Linked DNA regions of Homo sapiens: region 1 is linked to region 2. Evidence: promoter capture Hi-C in 16 types of primary human blood cells and fetal thymus (Javierre and others, 2016). All regions are on one chromosome and are shown on one strand. Each heading gives the region's core, a stretch centred on a gene start or on the middle of the fragment in contact. The rest is flanking DNA. Distances are from core to core; before and after follow the strand shown.

Region 1 (5,679 bases), core at 1,770-4,269, 240 kb before region 2:
TAGCACTCGAGCCTATGAGAGGACGGGGACCCCATGGCCACCTCCTGGCCTCGGGATACCAGCACCATTTAGCCCGTTCCATCCGGTTCTCACCTGAGCTGCAGGGCGTCACGGGCAGGAGGGCTGGCCAGGCTCTGAGTGGGGAGGCCCTGGGGCACACTGAGGGGCCCCTGTGGGGCTGGAGGCCCAGTGTGCAGCTCTTCCTCCCCGGAGACTCGGGGGCTGGTCGGGGCATCTGTAGGCACTGGGTCAAAGGTGGCTGTCCAGCTGGGGCCTGGGATAGAGGTGGGGGAGCGGGATGGAGGGTGAACTCAGTAGCAGGCAGACAGCCCTGTGTACACCTGACCACACCGCCCATTCATTCACCTGGAGGCTGAGGGCCAGGGCTGGGGTAGGACAGAGGGGTGGCCCCTCCACGGGCTGCACAGCCAATGCCCTCCTCGTCTTCCTCCTCCTCCTCGTCCTCCTCTTCTTCGTCCTCACTGTCTGTGCTGCCTCCACTCCTGCCCCAGAAACCACCTCGTCAGCTAGCTGTGTGGGACAGACCGGCCGACACCCATCCTGTTCCCTGCAGCCCAGGGTCAGCCCAAGGAGAGCGGGCTGGGATGACAGGCAGGTCACAGAAGGGTCCAGGGAGCCTGGGGTGTGACGACACCAGGAGAGGCTGGGAGAGGGAGTTCTGAGCCAACGGCAAGAACACAGGCGGGCAGGGACAGAATGCGGCCGTAAGGAGACCGTCCGTCGCCAGTCATCCGTGGAGGGCAGGCCCTGGGGAAGTGGGCTGAGCCTCAGCCATGGCAACCAGAGCAGACAGACCCACTCACCAGCTCTCAAGCCACCTCCCAGCCGTCACCTCACACGGTCACCACAGTGACAGGCCTTCCCACCAGCAGGCCCACCCTCTGGACAGAGGCTTCACACTACTCTCTCCCTCCAACTAGAAACTCCAAGAAGGCAGAGATGGCTGAGTTTTGCCACTGCTGTATCCTCAGCCCTGAGAAACCACCAGGCACCCATAGCTGCTCCAAAAACACTGGCTGAATGTTGACTAACACACACCTGTGAGCATGAAGAAAATCCAAGCAACCTACGTGCTGATCAACCGGGGAAGGGGTAAGCAAAGTAACACTAAAACTAAGCTTTAACAACGAGGGTGCACTCTGAAAAACGCCATCATTAGGCGATTTTGCTATTGTGTGAACATTCTAGAGTGCACTTACACACACCTGGATGGTGGCGCCTCCTGTACACCTAGGCTCTGTGGTATAGCCTATTGTTCCTAGACTACCGACCTATACAGCATGTTACAGTACTGAATACTACAGGCAATTCTAACAATGGTAAATGTTTGTGTATCTAAACATAGGAAAAATACAGCAAAAATAGAGGATTATAATCTCACGGGACCACTGTCATATGTGGTCCATCGCTGACCCAAAGATGCAGTATGGGACTATATACTATGTCTAAAATGCTGACCCAATATTTTTGTCTTAACAGAGTAACTGACTACTTTAACTGGAAAGTAATATATCTGTATATAGTTAAAAGTAAACTAAAATACTCAACGACTAAGGAGTATAAAGGAAGCCCCTCAACCTAACATAAGGCATCTACAAAACCCCACAACTAACAGCATGCTTACATGGCAAAACGCTGAATGCTTCCCCCTAAGATCAGGAACAAAACAAGGATGCCTGTTCTTGCCACTTCTGTTCAACATTGTCCCGGAGGCTAGCCAGGGCAACCAGGCAAGAAAAGGAAATTAAAATCATCCAGATTTGAAAGGAAGGAAAATGAACTCTATTCACATGACATGATTCTGTACATAGAAAATCCTAAGGAGTCCACTAAAACTATCAGAACTCATACATTAGTTCAGCAAGGTTGCAGGATGAAAGATCAACATACAAAAACCTATTGTATTTTCATATACTTGTAACAATCTGAAAACAATTTCAAGAAAATTCCATTTACAATAGTAACAGAAAGAAGAAAACAGGAATAAACTTAAAAGAAATACAAAGCCTCATACTCTAAAACCTACGAAACATTGTTGAAAGAAATTTTAAGACCTATATAAAAAGACATCCATGTTCACGTATTAGAAGACGCAAGGTGGCTTCTTGGTTGAAATTGACAAGCTGATCCTAAAATTCATATGGAATCTCAAGAAATCCCAAATAGGGCAAAACAATCTTTAAAAAGAAGAACAAGGTTGGAAAACTAAAACCTCCCATTTTCTTTTTTCTGTGAGATGGAGTTTCGTTCTTGTCACCCAGACTGGAGTGCAATGAATGGTGCGATCTCAGCTCACTGCAACCTCTGCCTGCCAGGTTCAAGCGATATTCCTGCCTCAGCCTCCTGAGTAGCTGGGATTACAGGCACCCACCACAGCCGGCTAATTTTTGTATTTTTAGTAGAGATGGGGTTTCACCATGTTGGCCAGGCTGGTCTCAAACTCCTGACCTCAGGTGATCCATCCACCTTGGCCTCCCAAAGTGCTGGGATTACAGGTGTGAGCCACCGTGCCCAACAAACCTCCCATTTTCAAAACTTACTATAAAGCAACAGCAACCAGGCCAGTGTGGTACTGGATAAAAACAACACACAGACTGATAGAACAGAACAGAGAGGGAAGAAACAAACTCATACATATGGTCAAATATTTCCTTTTTACACAGGTGCCAAGATGATTCAGTGGAGAAAGGACAGTGTCTTCAACAACTGGTGCAGGGAAAACTGGTTATCTATATGTAAAGGGATGAAGGTGGACCACCTCACATCATATACAAAATTTAGCTCAAAATGAATGGAAAACCATAGAAATAATGCTATAAAACTCTTAGAAGAAAAGAGAGGGCTAAGTCAAGATGCTGGATTTGGCAGTGACACACTTGTGCACCAACAACACGTGCAAGGGTATTCACAGCGGCCGCACTCACAGCGGCTGCACTCACAGCAGCGAGCAACAGGAACCTGCCCAAAGGCCTGTCAACTGCAGAACAAGCAATTCAGCTGCAGCTCATCATGCATGGCACTGCCCCACTGCACGAGAGCCAGGGGCACCCAAACACACAACAGGGAAGGAGCTCACAAGCAGAGTGTTGAGCAACAGAGGTCAGACATAAAAGGAGATGCTGTATGCTATATCAAGTGAAAACAGAGACAAAACTCATCTACAGGGTTAGAAGCCAGGACAACTTTACCCTCAGAAGGGAGGATACTGGCTAACAGAGGGGATGTGGGTACTGGGAAGGTCCTGCTCCTGGGTCTGGGCACTGAGGAAGGATATCCATTGGCCACACACTCAGGATCTGTATGTACACTTGTCTATACGCATGTTACATGTCAATAAAAAGTGAAAACAGCCTAATTCCGAAATCAAAAGTCATGAGTCAAAAACTCAGTTGCAGATGATGACTTAGTGTTCAGGCTGTCAAATCTACATGGCATGAACCCATTTCATCACAGCGACTCTGGGGCCGGCCAGTATTAAGAGAAAAAAAAAAAACAATGTAACATTTGCACTAAAATGTCATCACAGCCTGATTGGAGAGGGACGTCATCATCTCTCATTTTACTGGAATTAGAGAAGAGAGAAGCTGCCTGGGACCATCTTACCCCCCTTTCTAGGAAAACGTGTGAGAGCTAACACGAGGAAGTGAAGTGAAGGGATGAAGGAAGGAGACAGGGAGGCGGGAAGAGAGAGACACACACAGACCAAGCCATACCTCAGGACCTGCCTATTTTTTCAGCCACAGAGATTATCCCTTTCTTTTCATAACTTAACTCATTTGAATTAGATTCCTTTTTTTTTTTTTTTCTGAGACAGAGTCTCGCTCTGTCGCCCAGGCTGGAGTACAGTGGCGCAATCTTGGCTCACTGCAAGCTCCGCCTTCCGGGTTCACGCCATTCTCCTGCCTCAGCCTCCCAAGTCGCTGGGACCACAGGTGCCCGCCACCACGCCCGGCAAATTTTTTGTATTTTTAGTAGAGACGGGGTTTCACCATGTTAGCCAGGATGGTCTTGATCTCCTGACCTCGTGATCCGCCCGCCTCAGCCTCCCAAAGTGCTGGGATTACAGGCGTGAGCCACCGTGCCCGGCTGATTTTTTTTAATTTGTTGATTCTTTTTTTTTTTTTTTTTTTTGAGACCAGGTCTCTGTCACCCAGACTGGAGTGCAGTGGTGCGATCTCAACTCACTGCAACCTCCGCCCCCCAGGGTAAAGCGATCCTTCCACCTCAGCCTCTCAAGTAGCTGGGACTACAGGCACACGTCACCACATCCAGGTAATTTTTGTAGAGACAGGGTTTCGCTATGTTGCCCAGGCTAGGTCTCAAACTCCTGAGCTCAAGCGATCCATCCACCTTGGCCTCCTCCCGAAGTACTGGGATTACAGGCTTGAGCCACTGTGCCCGGCTAATTTGTTGATTTCTTAATGCATCATCTACCTTTTTTTTTGAGACAAGTCTGGCTCTGTTGCCCAGACTGGAGTGCAGTGGTATGATCTCGGCTCACTGCAACCTCTGCCTCCCTGGCTCAAGCCATCCTCCCACCTCAACCTCCCGAGTAGCCAGGACTACAGGTGCACACCACCATGCCCATCTAACTTTTGTATTTTTTGTAGAGACAGGATCTCCCTATGTTGCCCAGGGCTGGTCTCAAACTCCTGAGCTCAAGCAATCCATCTGCCCTGGCCTCCCAAAGTACTGGGATTACAGGCACTCAGGGATTACATGAGCCCACCATGCTTGGCCTTGAATTAGATTTCTATCACTCAAAAGTGAAAGTGCCCCCAACTAATACACACACCAATGCAGGTTCCTTATTTTCTTCATTCACTTCAGCCTCAGTCCAAATGTGTTGGGGGGACCCCTTGGCCCTGCCGTGTGGTGGAAGCTTGGAGAAGGGAAACTGGAGGGGGACTCACCGGACACCAGGTGGCTGGCCCAGACGGGCCCCCCTGGCCAGCTGGCTGCCCTGCCAGGCGCCATCTTCTCCATCAGACTCCCCTGAGCCCTGGGCCTCTTCCTCGTCCTCCTCTTCCTCATCATCATCAAACTGCTGGATGCGGTCCTTGTAGCATATCTCAAGTAGGTTGGCGTTGGGCTGCAGGGCACAGGGGTGGGAGGATGGGCCACACTGCCCACAGCCCCACACCCCTCCACCCGCCACAACCAGGGGACAGGGCAGTACTCACGTTCTCATCGTCAGCATTGAGGGAGAAGGTGATGTTGGCTGTCTTGTCAAAAGGTGCGCTAGGAGAGAAGGCAAGGCATGGTGAGAAGGTCCACCTGGGGGTGGGGGCAGCACAGGACAGGCCACATTTCTTTCTTCACTCAACACAGAGCTGACCCTCATTACTTGCAGATTTGGTATCTGCAAATTCACACACAACCCGAACCACTGGTCCTAAGGGGCAACGCATACATGAATATCAACATCTCACATATGATCACTTTAAATCCTTAAAACCACTCATTGAGGTAGGCTGTTTCCCTTGGCTCTAGAAGTGAGAAAATGGGGCTCGGAAATGTTAAGCGACTCTCCTCAGGCTCTTCCAAGGACAGGTGCCAGAGAGGGATTCAGATCCATGCCCTTGTCCCCATCCTTGGGGCATCTGTAGGAGGCTGACACTCACACCAGCCAGGCACAAGCAGAATGTGAGACTACAG
Region 2 (5,525 bases), core at 558-3,057:
GCTGTACTGCCCAGGCTGGGTGTCCCATCCCTTTTGTAATGCCTCTGCGTGGGCAGGTAAATGAGGGGGGCTGAGCTGAGGGCCCCTTTCACTACTGCAGAGACCAAAATGGCCCGAGGCAAGGGGGACGGAAGTGGGATCCGCACCTCTGGGCTTTCCTAGCCTGGCAGCCAGCTGGGCAGTGCATTCCCATCCACGTCTCCACCCTGCATGGCAGCCGCTTTGTGTGGTTAATGCTGACGTGAAAGGAATGTTGGGCTGAGCTGGATGCCAAGGGTTTTTACACGCACGAATGCACGGAGACATCAGCACCAAGACCCTGTAAGGTAGGGGTGGGTCCACACCACCGCAGATCAGCCCTGAGTTCCAGCCTGCTTGTGGACTTGGGAAACGGTGTGGGAGGCTGGAAAAATCCACTCATTCAACAAACAAGTACCGTCTGCTTCTCCATCAGGGCCCATGCTGGTTGTTTGGAATACCTGGGCAGCAAAGACACGAAAGGTCCTCGCTGTCATGGGACATAGATAAATGTCGCTGAGCATGTAAGAGGGACACCACCTAGCACAGGAGGCTTTCCAGTGGGATCTTGCTGGGCAGGGATGGGTTAAGGGTAGAAGGGCCTTCTGGCCTGAGAAACAGCATGCAGAATGGTCTTCAAGCTGAGGGTACTGCCTTTGAGCAGTGGCTCTCAACTAGTGAACATGTGGCAATGTCTGGAGATATTCTTTTTGTTGTTGTTGTTTTTTTTTTTTAACACAGAGTCTCACTCTGTCACCCTGGCTGGAGTGCAGTGGCACGATCTTGGCTCACTGCAACCTCCGACTCCTGGGCTCAAGCGATCCTCTTGCCTCAGCCTCCTGAGTAGCTGGGGTTACAGGTGCCTGCCACCATGCCCGGCTAATTTTTGTATTTTTAGTAGAGACGGGGTTTCACCATGTTGGCCAGGCTGGTCTTGAACTCTTGACCTCAAGTGATCTGCCTGCCTCAGCCTCCCAAAGTGCTGGGATTACAGGTGTGAGCCACCGCGAAAATCTCTATCTGGAGATATTCTGAGCTCTCCTACGGGGTGTGTGGAGCGGGGCTGGGGATGCTACCTGCATCTAGTGAGTGGGGGCCCTAGAGTGTGTAGGACAGTCCCCGCTGCAATGAATCCATCCCAAATGGCACTAGTGCTCTGGTTGAGAAACTGCGTTTAATGACCCTCAGAAAAGCCAGTGTGGCTGGAACGCTGGGTTGGGCGGGGGTTGAGCGTGGAGAGGGGCTTTGGAGCAGCTCGGTCTCCCACTAAAACCCTAGGCCCCACAAGGAGTCTGTGGATTCCAGCCTCCCAGAACAGACCTTTGCCCAGCAGGAACCAGGTTTCTGCAGCGTCTGGATGAGCGTGCACGAAGCACACGCCCGAAAATCCTGAGCACGTGGCTCTACCGAGGGACTGGAAGCGCTCCAGGCCTCGTTTTCCCGCTGGAGCGATTACACCCTGGGGGCGGGGCCCGCTTCACGGGAGGGATTTTTGTACAACCGTGGTGCATGGAAGGATTTTTTTGCAGATGAGAGGGAATCGGGATTAATAAGGGGAACTTGCGACCCCGCGTCTCGAGCTGGCCGTCCCTGGCCTTGGGCTCACCGGGGCCTCGGCCCCCAAGACCTGACAACTGGAGTCCGCGACCACAACTGGGAGAACTACAACTCCCAGGATGCCGCGCACCGCCTGCGCCCGAGCTCGACGAGGCCTCGCACAGCCAATGGGAGGGTCCGGGGGCGGGAACTCGGAGTACGTGCGTTGTGACGCACCGACGGCGACGTCGGGGTTTGTGTGCGCGAGAGGCCGCCGATAAAGGTTGGGTGCCTCGCGCCGGGGGCCGTTGGGAGGGAGTGCGCCCCTGCCCCCCCTCCCCGGTCCCCACAGCTGCACCGCCGCTGCCGGGGCCCCACCTTCCCGTCGACCCCCGCGGGAAGGTCCTGGGGCTGCCACCCTCGTTCCCCCGATTGGGGCCGCAGGTGAGAGACCGGAGGGGGTGGGGGTGGGGGGAGGGACCGGAGGGCGGAGAAGTTGCAGGGGGTGGGGCGGGGGGGGGGGCGTGAAACCGGAAGGGGTACCTTAAAGGGGAGTCACTATTTCACCTCCGACATTTGCCAGCTAGGCCGGGTCCGCCCTCTTAAAGGGCAAGGGGCCACATTGAGAGGGCGGGTCAGGCTTTGCATTTTTACAGAAGCTTTCTGACTTAAAACAATGTTTTTCCCCTAAAAGGCGGTTATCTCATTAAAGGCCAGTGACCGTTTCCCAGACATTGAAGCAAAAACTCCTGAGTCCTGGTTGCTTCAAAGCGATCCCTGGTTTAGCTCAACAAAAGTGGAGATGGGGCTCCAGTGGCAGCATCCCCTTAAAGGGGAGGTCCAGCCTGCTGAACGGGTGTGGCGCGGCCTTTTAAAGGGGATGTCTTCTTGTTAAATGGGACCCCGCTCTTTCAGGGCACGGATATCTCTTTTAAGGAGATGCTGGGGCTTCTCAAAGGCACGTGCAGCTTCTTAGCATCAGTAGGTTTGTTTTTTTTTTTTTTTTTTTTTTCTGGAGACGGAGTCTTGCTCCGTTGCCCAGGCTGGAGTGCAGTGGCGCGATCTAACCTGCTTACATATTAAAGGGTACACTTATCTTTTAAAAAGGAAGTTCTTGGCTAGGCGCGGTGGCTCACGCCTGTAATCCCAGCACTTTGGGAGGCCGAGGCGGGCGGATCACTTGAGGCCAGGAGTTCAAGACCAGCCCAGGCAATATGGTGAAACCCCGTCTCTACTAAAAATACAAAAATTAGCCGGGCGCGGTGGCGTGCACCTGTAATCCCAGCTACTCGGGAGGCTGAGGCAGGAGAATCGCTTGAAGCCGGGAGGCGAAGGTTGCAGTGAGCCGAGATCGCGCCACTGCACTCCAGCCTCGGTGACAGAGTGAGACCCTGTCTCCAAAAAAAAACAAAAAAAACACACAAGTTCTTGTAGCTTGTCCGACGGGGATGCCTAGCCTTCATTCATTTAAAATTTGTTTACTGCGCACACACTCTGCCAGACATTATTGTAGGCACTGGGATGGCATACAACAGTGAACCAGACAGAAGCCCCTATTTTCCCGGCGTTGACATTCTAGCATGGGGAGGCAGAATAAAACAGAAAGCACACTGGTTATATAGTAGCGGTTCTCATCTGGGGGCAACGGTGCTCCCCAGGGGCGACACTGCGGCTAAGACTCGGAGGTGCAGGAGTGAGCTTTGTGGACAGCGTAGAGGAGGGCTTCATAGGCCAATGTCAGGCGTCCAGTGGGTCGAGGCCGGGGGCCAGGGCTGCTGCTCGACACCCTGCAGTGCACAGGACAGCCCTCAACAGAGAATGGTCTGGCCCCACATCTCAGCACTGCTGAGGCTGAGAATCCTGGTACATTAGAAGGTGATAATTGCTGCGGGGGAAAAATAAGGCAGGAAAAGGGAATGGGGAGTTGGAAGGGATTGTAGATTTAAATAGGGCTGTCAGGGAAGCTCTTGCAGAGGGGATTTCAGCGAAGACTCGGAGGTGAAAGAGCGAGTGGCGGGCACAGGTGGAAAGGAAGGGGGTGGTTCTAGGCAGGTGCCCTGAGGTGGGAGCAGGCGTGCCTGGCCATCCTGGGTGACCAGAGTGACCAGGGGCAGGTGGCCAGTGAGGATAGCAGTAGGACAAGTCAGGGAGGGGACAGGCTGCAGGAAGTCGGCAGGCTCGAAGACCAGAACTGTGGCAGATTTCTGAGTACAGGAATGCAATGCCCAGCCCTCCCTGTTGACGGGTTCGCTTCAGTTGCTGTATTGGGAACAGACGGGTGGGCAGGGCACGGGTGGAAACACGGCGATCCGTGGGGAGGCTGTTGCAGCTGCCTGGGAGAGAGACAGTGGTGCCTCAGATCAAGGTGGAGGCCTGTGAGAAGTGGCCAGATCTTGGATATGTTCCGCCTGGAAGGGGAATCTGCGGACAGGGGCAATCGAGAGAGAGGAGGCGAGGAGCCTTTGGCCTGAGGAAGAAGACGGCTGCCATTTTCAGAGATGGAGAAGCTATGGGTGGAGTAGAAGTTGGGGGCGAGGAGCAGAAGACCATAGTTAGATTTTGGGCATGTTAAGTTGGAGGTGTCTAATGAGGCATCCAGGTGGAACAGTCTAGCAGGTGGTGTGGCATTCAGAGGGTAGGTCTTATAGAGCTGGAGGCCTGGAGTCATTGTTCATAGACAGTGGAGTCCTGAGAGTGGGTGGGGGCTCCCAGGGAGAGAGGACAGACAGAGGACAAAGTGGTGCCGGAGCCCCGGGCGCTCCCACATCTAGAGGTCAGGGAGGTGAGAAGGAACCAAGCTGGGGACTGAGATGGGGTGACAGGTGACGGAGGGCAGTGAGGGAGCGAGGTATCCCGGAGGCCAGGGGGAGGCGGGCCACGGACCCAGTGACAAGTGGGCCATTGCGGGCCACGCGCCGCCCAGGCCATGGAGTGGGGGCACCCGCGTGGGACTGAAGGGGTTTGCGCTGGGAAAGAGCGGGCTGACACTTGAGCTGCTCTGCTGTGAAGGAATGGAGAAACGAGTCTGCAGCTGGACAGGGAAGTGGAGTGAAGAGCTTTTTGGTTTTTAAAGATGGGAGACATAGATTGTTGGTTCTGCAGATGGGAACGTCCAGGAGAGGAGGAAAAGTGGAGGATGTGGGTGGGAAGGCACAGTCCACGGGCACTGGGTCAGGCCTGTGGGGAAGGATTGCGCAGGGTTTCTGGACCTCGCACTGCTGACATTGTGGATGGGATTGTTCTCCGCTGTGGGGCCGTCCTGTGAATTGTAGGATGTTGGGCAGCATCCCTGGCCTCCACCCACTAGATGCCAGGAGCACTTGCCTCTCTAGTTAACAGATAACCCCAAATGCCTCCAGGCATTGCGGGATGTCCCCTGGGTTGAAGGCACAGTTTGTCCCAGTTGAGAACCACTAGTATCGTGGTCAGAATGTGAGAAACTTCGCGTCTGATTGCTTTTATTTTCACAGAGGCATGATCAAGGACAGGGTTGCCTGCCAAGAACAGGAGGGGAGAGGAGGGGCTGGAGGTTTCAGGAGAAAGAAGCATGTCAGGTAGTCACCTGGGGAGTGCATGGGCCAGAGACATGTAGTGTGAGCCAGGGAGGGTGATGGTGAGGGGGCCGCAGATTTTGTGGGCTTGAAGGGAAAGTGAGACTGAGGCCAGGCAAGGGGGTGCCTGTCATGGCCACCTGCAGCGTTTGTGCAGGGTCGGGCAGGAGTGAGGATGTGGGTTGGCTGGAGGTGAAAGGGCGCGCTGGATGGTAGATGGGCTGGAGTCTAAGGATTTGGGGAGTTGGAGCACCAAGCTAGAGTGACCTAGAAGGCTTTGTGGTGTTGGGAAGTAGGTTGTTCCAGGCTCAACCATGAGGACACTTTTTTTTTCCTTTTTTTTTTTTTTGAGATGGAGTCTCTCTCTATGGCCCAGGCTGGAGTACAGTGGTGTGATCTCGGCTTACTGCAACCTCCACC

The links. The method cuts DNA at HindIII sites, captures the fragments that hold promoters and counts their contacts. A CHiCAGO score of 5 or more calls a contact.
Region 1: a contact is called between a fragment that was not itself captured here and the fragment with the promoter of ZNF628 in region 2, in 1 of 17 cell types (naive CD8 T cells). The highest score is 5.7, in naive CD8 T cells.

Annotation. Positions count from the first base shown.
Region 1 is chr19:55,231,709-55,237,387 of GRCh38, forward strand. PPP6R1 (protein phosphatase 6 regulatory subunit 1) reads right to left here. Exons shown (of 24, transcript NM_014931.4): 16 at 5,205-5,262; 17 at 4,935-5,113; 18 at 367-503; 19 at 94-274. Among named protein-coding and RNA genes, the nearest start is that of MIR6804, 3.6 kb to the left of the region's middle. The HindIII fragment of the contact is 3,764 bases long and covers 1,138-4,901 here.
Region 2 is chr19:55,474,810-55,480,334 of GRCh38, forward strand. ZNF628 (zinc finger protein 628) reads left to right here and starts at 1,808. Exons shown (of 3, transcript NM_033113.3): 1 at 1,808-1,998; 2 at 5,025-5,108. The coding sequence starts at 5,102. RefSeq lists silencers at 1,874-2,073, 2,206-2,529. The HindIII fragment of the contact is 2,239 bases long and covers 1-2,211 here.